Linked DNA regions of Homo sapiens: region 2 is linked to region 1. Evidence: promoter capture Hi-C in human tissues and cell types (Jung and others, 2019). All regions are on one chromosome and are shown on one strand. The core of a region is centred on a gene start or on the middle of the fragment in contact, and the rest is flanking DNA. Distances in the headings are between cores, read along the strand shown.

What was found. The method cuts DNA at HindIII sites, captures the fragments that hold promoters and counts their contacts. A contact is called where the count stands out against the background at its distance.
Region 2: a contact is called between a fragment that was not itself captured here and the fragment with the promoter of FCER1G in region 1, in 4 of the 25 tissues and cell types used here (H1 embryonic stem cells, bladder, lymphoblastoid cells and 1 more).

Annotation. Positions count from the first base shown.
Region 1 is chr1:161,214,045-161,216,544 of GRCh38, forward strand. It overlaps FCER1G (Fc epsilon receptor Ig), which reads left to right and starts at 1,251. Exons shown (of 5, transcript NM_004106.2): 1 at 1,251-1,326. The coding sequence starts at 1,278. NDUFS2 (NADH:ubiquinone oxidoreductase core subunit S2) reads left to right here. Exons shown (of 14, transcript NM_001377299.1): 14 at 112-351. The coding sequence ends at 149. The HindIII fragment of the contact is 8,503 bases long and covers 1-2,500 here.
Region 2 is chr1:161,345,706-161,350,424 of GRCh38, forward strand. The region is part of intron 4 of SDHC (succinate dehydrogenase complex subunit C); the gene reads left to right. Among named protein-coding and RNA genes, the nearest start is that of CFAP126, 20 kb to the right of the region's middle. The HindIII fragment of the contact is 5,263 bases long and covers 1-4,719 here.

The DNA of each region.
Region 1 (2,500 bases), core at 1-2,500:
TTGAGCACAGTAATGGGTTCTGGATCTTGGGTAACACCACTTTTTTTGTTTGTTTTGCCTCACAACAGGAAGATAAGTAACATCACTTTTTTCCTCCATCCTCTCACCTAGGTACCCAAGATATTGTATTTGGAGAAGTAGATCGGTGAGCAGGGGAGCAGCGTTTGATCCCCCCTGCCTATCAGCTTCTTCTGTGGAGCCTGTTCCTCACTGGAAATTGGCCTCTGTGTGTGTGTGTGTGTGTGTGTGTGTGTGTATGTTCATGTACACTTGGCTGTCAGGCTTTCTGTGCATGTACTAAAAAAGGAGAAATTATAATAAATTAGCCGTCTTGCGGCCCCTAGGCCTAAACTTCTGGTATCTTAGTGTCTCAGTATCTTAGTGTCCTTCACTCGGACTGTAAACCTAAGAATGTTCATTAACCCTCCATTCCTGTTAGATTCAGTCAGGTCTTAGCAATTTTTCCTGCTCGTCTCCACCCCCTTCTCTGACTCTTGTCCTTTCCACTTCTCTATTCCCCATTTCCTCTTTCGCCTCAGTTCCCTCCTTGCCCAAACCTTCTCAGTGCCCACATAACTTGGTAAACCACTCAAATCAAGACCTGGGGTAAAGTTGGGAGGGAAAGGGCTATAGTGGGGTCTGAGGGAATGTTGACGGGCAGTTTCACACAGATAAATCTCTGAACCAGCCGGGCGCAGTGCCTCACGCCTGTAATCCCAGCACTTTGGGAGGCCGAGGCGGATGGATCACCTGAGATCAGGAGTTCAAGACCAGCCTGATCAACATGGAGAAACCCCATCTCTACTAAAAATACAAAATTAGCCGGGCGTGGTGGTGCATGCCTGTAATGCCAGCTACTCGGGAGGCTGAGAGAATCGCTTGAACCTGGGAGGCGGAGGTTGCGGTGAGCCGAGATGGCGCCATTGCACTCCAGCCTGGGCAACAAAGCAAGAGTCCGTCTCAAAAAAAAAAAAAAAAAAAAAAATCTGAACCAGGTGGAGTGGAAAATGGCAGATGTAGACAGCCTTTCCTGAGCGTGAAAGTCTCCTCATTCTGTGGGTTAGGAGTTGGTCATTGAAGGGCTGACGCTTAAGAGCCCAGATCTCCCAACTCCCTTAGTTGGCCCTTCCGGGAGCCGCCCGGTCTCTTGTGCAGGAAGGGGAAGGGGCCAAAGCATGGGGGAAGGCGTGGCAGGAAGAGGGGGACTCTGTGGTCAGGGAACTGCTCGCTGAGCACAGCTGCACAGTGCTGTCAGAACGGCCGATCTCCAGCCCAAGATGATTCCAGCAGTGGTCTTGCTCTTACTCCTTTTGGTTGAACAAGCAGGTAAGAGGGTTTGGTGAGGGATAGCGTGAGCTGGCTCCAGGGTGGAAGTCCAGAGCTTGGGTCTGAGGGCCAAGTCAAACACAGGTGAAGGAAGGCTGACAGTGGGTAGGTGGGCATAGGGAGACCCTGAGGCTAGTCCTCTCCAGCCCCGACCCAGGGCACTAGACTCATAGTTCCCTCCTTTCTTGTTGCCTTCTTACTTCATTCCAGACTTTTCTCCGTATTATTATTATTATTTTGGAGATGGAGTCTTGCTCTGTCACCCAGGCTGGAGTGCAGTGGCGCAATCTCTACTCACTGCAACCTCTGCCTCCTGGGTTCAAGCGATTCTCCTGCCTCAGGCTCCCGAGTAGCTGGGACTACAGGTGCCCGCCACCACGCCCGGCTAAGTTAAGTATTTTTGGTAGAAACCGGGTTTCGTCATGTTGACCAGGGTAGTCTTGAACTCCTGACTCAAGTGATCCACCCACCTCGACCTCCCAAAGTGCTGGGATTACTGGTGTGAGCCACTGCACCCAGCTATTATTATTATTAAAAAAAGACAGGGTCTTACTATGTTGGCCACATCGGTCTTGAACTCCTGGCCTCAAGCAATTCTCCCACCTCGGCCTCCCAAAGTGCTACTGTGCCTGGCTGACTTTTCTCTTTTCAGGGTTGATAGAAAGTGGCAGGGGAAGGGTCTGGTTGTATGGCATGAAGAGCTGGTCTGGTGAAAAGCCTCATTTCTCATGATGAGCATTTCCCATGGGGTGCCTTTGGTCTTGTCTGCTGGGAGCTGATCTCTAGCTGGTTTAATATACAAAGCACCCTTGGTGCCTATAATTCCAGCTACTCAGAAGGCTGAGGCAGGAGAATCACTTGAACCCAGGAGGTGGAGGTTGCAGTGAGCCAAGATCGCACCACTGCACTCTAGCCTGGGGGACAGAGTGAGACTCCGTCTCAAAAAAAAAAAAAAGATTTTACATATATATCTCTATCTATCTATCTATATACACACACACACACATACACACACACACACACACACACACACACACACACATATATATATATATATAGAGAGAGAGAGAGAGAGAGAGATAACCCTTTAGGAAGGTAGGACTCTGTTCTTGTGCTTGGGAGTAAGGCAAGGATATAGCCAAGACAAACAGACGGGATTGCTGTTTCTATGGGT
Region 2 (4,719 bases), core at 1,071-3,570, 130 kb after region 1:
TCGGCCTCCCAAAGTGTTGGGATTACAGGCTTGAGCCACTGCGCCTGGCAGTTGTAATTATTTTATTTGCTAACTTTTTATAAATCTGGGTTTTTTTGTTTTGTTTTTTGTTTTTTTTGAGACGGAGTCTTGCTCTGTTGCCCAGGCTGGAGTGCAGTGGCGCGATCTCAGCTCACTGCAGCCTCTGCCTCCAAGGTTCAAGCAATTCTTCTGCCTCAGCCTCCCGGGTAGCTGGGATTACAGGCACCCACTACCATGCACGGCTAATGTTTGTATTTTTAGTAGAGACAGGGTCTCACTATTTGGCCAGGCTGGTCTCAAACTCCTGACCTCAAGGAATCTGCCCGCCTCAGCCTCCCAAAGTGTTGGGATTACAGGCGTGAGCCACCACGCCCAGCCAAATCTGCGTCTTTTATTAGACTGTAAAGTCTTCAAAGAGTGGATACTCTATCTATCTTATTTACCATTCATACCCTCTAGCACTCAATAGGTGCTTAGAAAATCTTTATTTACTAAATGAACATACCCATGTAAATCACTTTGCTCATAGTGGTCACTTAGAAGTGTTCATTTTTCCCACCTTCTAATTAACCTCCTGTTACACATTAGAAATTAGATAGGGATAATATATAGTCTCTACTCTCAAGGATAGAGGAATCTAAGGAGTAAGACAAATATTTATAATGCACTGTGATAGCTTTTTTTTTTTTCGAGACAGAGTTTCGCTTTTGTTGCCCAGACTGGAGTGCAATAGCGCGATCTCAGCTCACTACAACTCTGCCTCCCAGGTTCAAGTGATTCTCCTGCCTCAGCCTCCCGACTAGCTGGGATTACAGGCATGCACCACCACGCCTGGCTAATTTTGTATTTTTAGTAGAGGCAGGGTTTCTCCATGTTGGTCAGGCTGGTCTCGAACTCCGGACCTCAGGTGTTCTGCCCACTTTGGCCTCCCAAAGTGCTGGGATTACAGGTATGAGCCACCATGCCCGGCCATGATAGCTTTTTAATAAGAGATATGAGACCCCAGAGGAGAAACCAACAAATACAGTTGTCCCTTATTATCTGTTGGAGATTGGTTCCAGGATTCCTCCTCAGATACCAAAATCTACAGATACTCAAGTCCCTTATATAAAAGGATGTGGTATTTGGATATATCCTATGTACATCATATACTTAAAATTATCTCTAGATTACTTATAATACCTAATACAATGTAAACGCTATGTAAATAGTTATATTGTTTATGGAATAATAACAAGAAAAAAAAAGTGTACGTTTTCAGTACAGATAAAACCATTCATTTCCCCCACCCAATATTTTCAATCCACAGTTAGTTGTATATCCACAGATGCAGAATCCATGGATGCAGAACTCAGGACACAGAGTTGACAGCACTCTGAGGGAGTTAGAAGGCTTGAAAGAAGTGTGAACAGGAGAGTTTGTGAAGAGGAGGTAGAGGAGGGCATTCCAACAGAGAAATTCCTTTATGGAAAGGCATAGGGATTGGAAATCTCCCGGATCATTGGATGATTATGACGAGGTCTGTTTCTTTTTTTCCTTTTTTTTTGAGATGGAGTCTCGCTCTGTCGGCCAGGCTGGAGTGCAGTGGCACGATCTCGGCTCACTGCAACCTCCGCCTGCCAGGTTAGAGAAATTTTCTTCCTCAGCCTTCCGAGTAGCTGGGATTACAGGCACCTGCCACCATGCCAAACTAATTTTTTTTGTATTTTTAGTAGAGTTGGGGTTTCAACATCTTGGCCAGGCTGGTCTTGAACTCCTGACCTCGTGATCCACCTACCTCGGCCTCCTGAAGTGTTGGGATTACAGGCATGAGCCACCACACCCGGCTGAGGTCTGTTTCTTAAGAATGGTGTTTATGGGGCCAGGCGCGGTGGCTCACACCTGTAATCCCAGCACTTTGGGAGGCCGAGGCAGGTGGATCACAAGGTCAAGAGATCAAGACCATCCTGGCCAACATGGTGAAACCCCATCTCTACTAAAAATACAAAAATTAGCTGGGCATGGTGGCATGTGCCTGTAGTCCCAGATACTTGGGAGGCTGAGGCAGGAGAATTGCTTGAACCCAGGAGGCGGAGGTTGCAGTGAGCCGAGATCACGCCACTGCACTCCAGCCTGGCAACAGAGTGACACTCTGTCTCAAAAAATAAAAAAAGAATGATGTTTATGGGAGAAGTGACAGAAGATAAGGCTAGAAAGTGGGCCAAATGGTGAAGGACTTTGACTGCCATGCTGTAGACCATGAAAAGCCATTAAAAGTTCATGTGCTCTTTTGTTCCAGTAACAGGACAAGCTGGCCTCCTGGATAAATACAAAATAAGTTATTTATTTTAACTATAGAGATTTTATGGCTAATATATAAATTTTAAAAAGCATGTTAACACTAGTTTGACTTTAAAATAGAATTTATTAAAAAGAAACTTGACAATTTTTGTTTGTTTGTTTTTTTTTGAGATGGAGTCTTGCCCTGTCGCCCAGGCTGGAGTGCAATGGTGCCATCGTGGCCCACTGCACTTCTGTCTCCTCCTGGGTTCAAGCAATTCTCCTGCTTCAGCCTCCCAGGTAGCTGGGACTACAGGCATGTGTCACCATGCCTGGCTAATTTTTGTATTTTTAGTAGAGACGGGATTTCACCATGTTGGCCAGGCTGGTCTTGAACTCCTTACCTCAAGTGATCCGCCTGCCTCTGCCTCCCAAAGTACTGGGATTACAGGCATGAGCTACTGCGCCTGGCCTGCAATGTTTTGAAAGGTTGAAAGAGGAGACTAATAGCACTCTTATATTGCTTAGGATCCATAAAGATTAAAATACTCAGGGCTGGGTGCGGTAGCTCATGGCTGTAATCCCAGCACTTTGGGAGGCTGAGGCGGGTGGATCACCTGAGATCAGGAGTTTGAGACCAGCCTGGCCAACATAGTGAAACCCCATCTCTACTAAAAATCCAAAAAAAAAAAAAAAAAAAAATTAGCCAGTTGTGGGTGGCGCATGGCTATAATCCCAGTTACTTGGGAGACTGAGCCAGGAGAATGAATTGAACCTGGAAGGCAGAGGTTGCAGTGAGCTAGGATCGCACCAGTGCACTCCAGCCTGGGTGACAGAGCGAGACTCTGTCTCAAAAATAAATAAATAAAAATACTCAGGATTTTTCATAGTGACAGAAAAAGTCTATTTGACTTTTTCCTATAAAAGTCTAGTTGAATTTAGGTACATGCCTTGAGAATGGCAGATAGCTGAAGTTGCAATAATGAATGAGTCTAGGAAATCATAAATAACAAGATAAAACATACAACATAAAGCATGAGATTAGGAAGAGAGAATAAAGATACTAAACAACAGATATTTTAAGCTTTGAACCAATATATACAGATATTCATGTATCTGTATATGAATTGTACAATTAGCTTGAATGGATATAAGAATGGTCCTGCATGTTTTGGGTAGTCTTTAAAAACAGTCAGGCCAGGTGCTGTGGCTCACGCTTGTAAACCCCGCACTTTGAGAGGCCAAGGCAGGTGGATTGCTTAAGACCAGGAGTTTGAGAACAGCCTGGCTAACATGGCGAAATCCCATCTCTACTAAAAATATAAAAAATTAGCTGGGTGTAGGTGGCACATTCCTGTAACGTGGGCTACTTGGGAGACTGAAGCACGAGAATCGCTTGAACCCAGGAGGCAGAGGTTGCAGTGAGCCGAGATCATGCCACTGCACTCTAGCCTGGGTGACAGCGAGACTTTATCTCAAAAATAAAAATAAATAAAAATAAAAAATAAAATAAAAACAGGGTCAGATGGAAGAATCAGAACTTTTGTGAGAGATTGCCTGAATTTGTAGGCAAACCTGCTGCTCAGGCAGGTAGCCTATTCTCTAGAAAAGCCAAAAGATTTACAGATTCATAAAGTAACTGATGGGCTTTGAAAATGACTGTGTTTTTCTTCTGTCATGAGATGGGATATTAGTTATTGATTCTTAAATATCATCTGTTATACTTTAGAAATCCTGGTTATTCCAGACTGAGTGTAGAAAAAGTGAAAAAAGTGCACTTTGGAATGAGACAGATCTGAGTTCAATTCTAACTCTGTCACTAACTGTGAGACCTTACCTTGAAAAAGTTATTTGTCACCACACCTGCCACCAAGCCTCAGTATTTTTGTCCACAAATTTGGATAATACCTTTTTTTTCTCTTTAGTTTAAAAAAATTTTTTTGAGACCAAGTTTCGCTCTTGTCTCCCAGGCTGGAGTGCAGTGACATAATCTCGGCTCACTGCAACCTCCACCTCCTGGGTTCAAGTGATTCTCCTGCCTCAGCTTTCCCAGTAGCTAGGATTACAGGCACGCGTCACCATGCCTGGTTAATTTTGTATTTTTAGTAGAGACGGGGTTTCACCATGTTGGCCAGGCTAGTCTTGAACTCCTGACTACAGGTGATCCACCTGCCTTGGCCTCCCAAAGTGCTAGGTTTACAAGGGTGATCCATGTACCCGGCCTCGTTTTTAAACAATTTTTTAAAAATGGAGATGAGGTTTCACAGTGTTGCCCAGGCTGGTCTCAACTCCTGAGCTCAAGTGATCCGCCTACCTTGGCCTCCCAAAGTGCTGGGATTACAGGCGTGAGCCACCATGCTCAGCCTGGATAATACCTTTTTGCTGTGTATGGGGGCAACAGTTAGAATTTAGAGACCTTAAAACTAGTATAAATTCTTT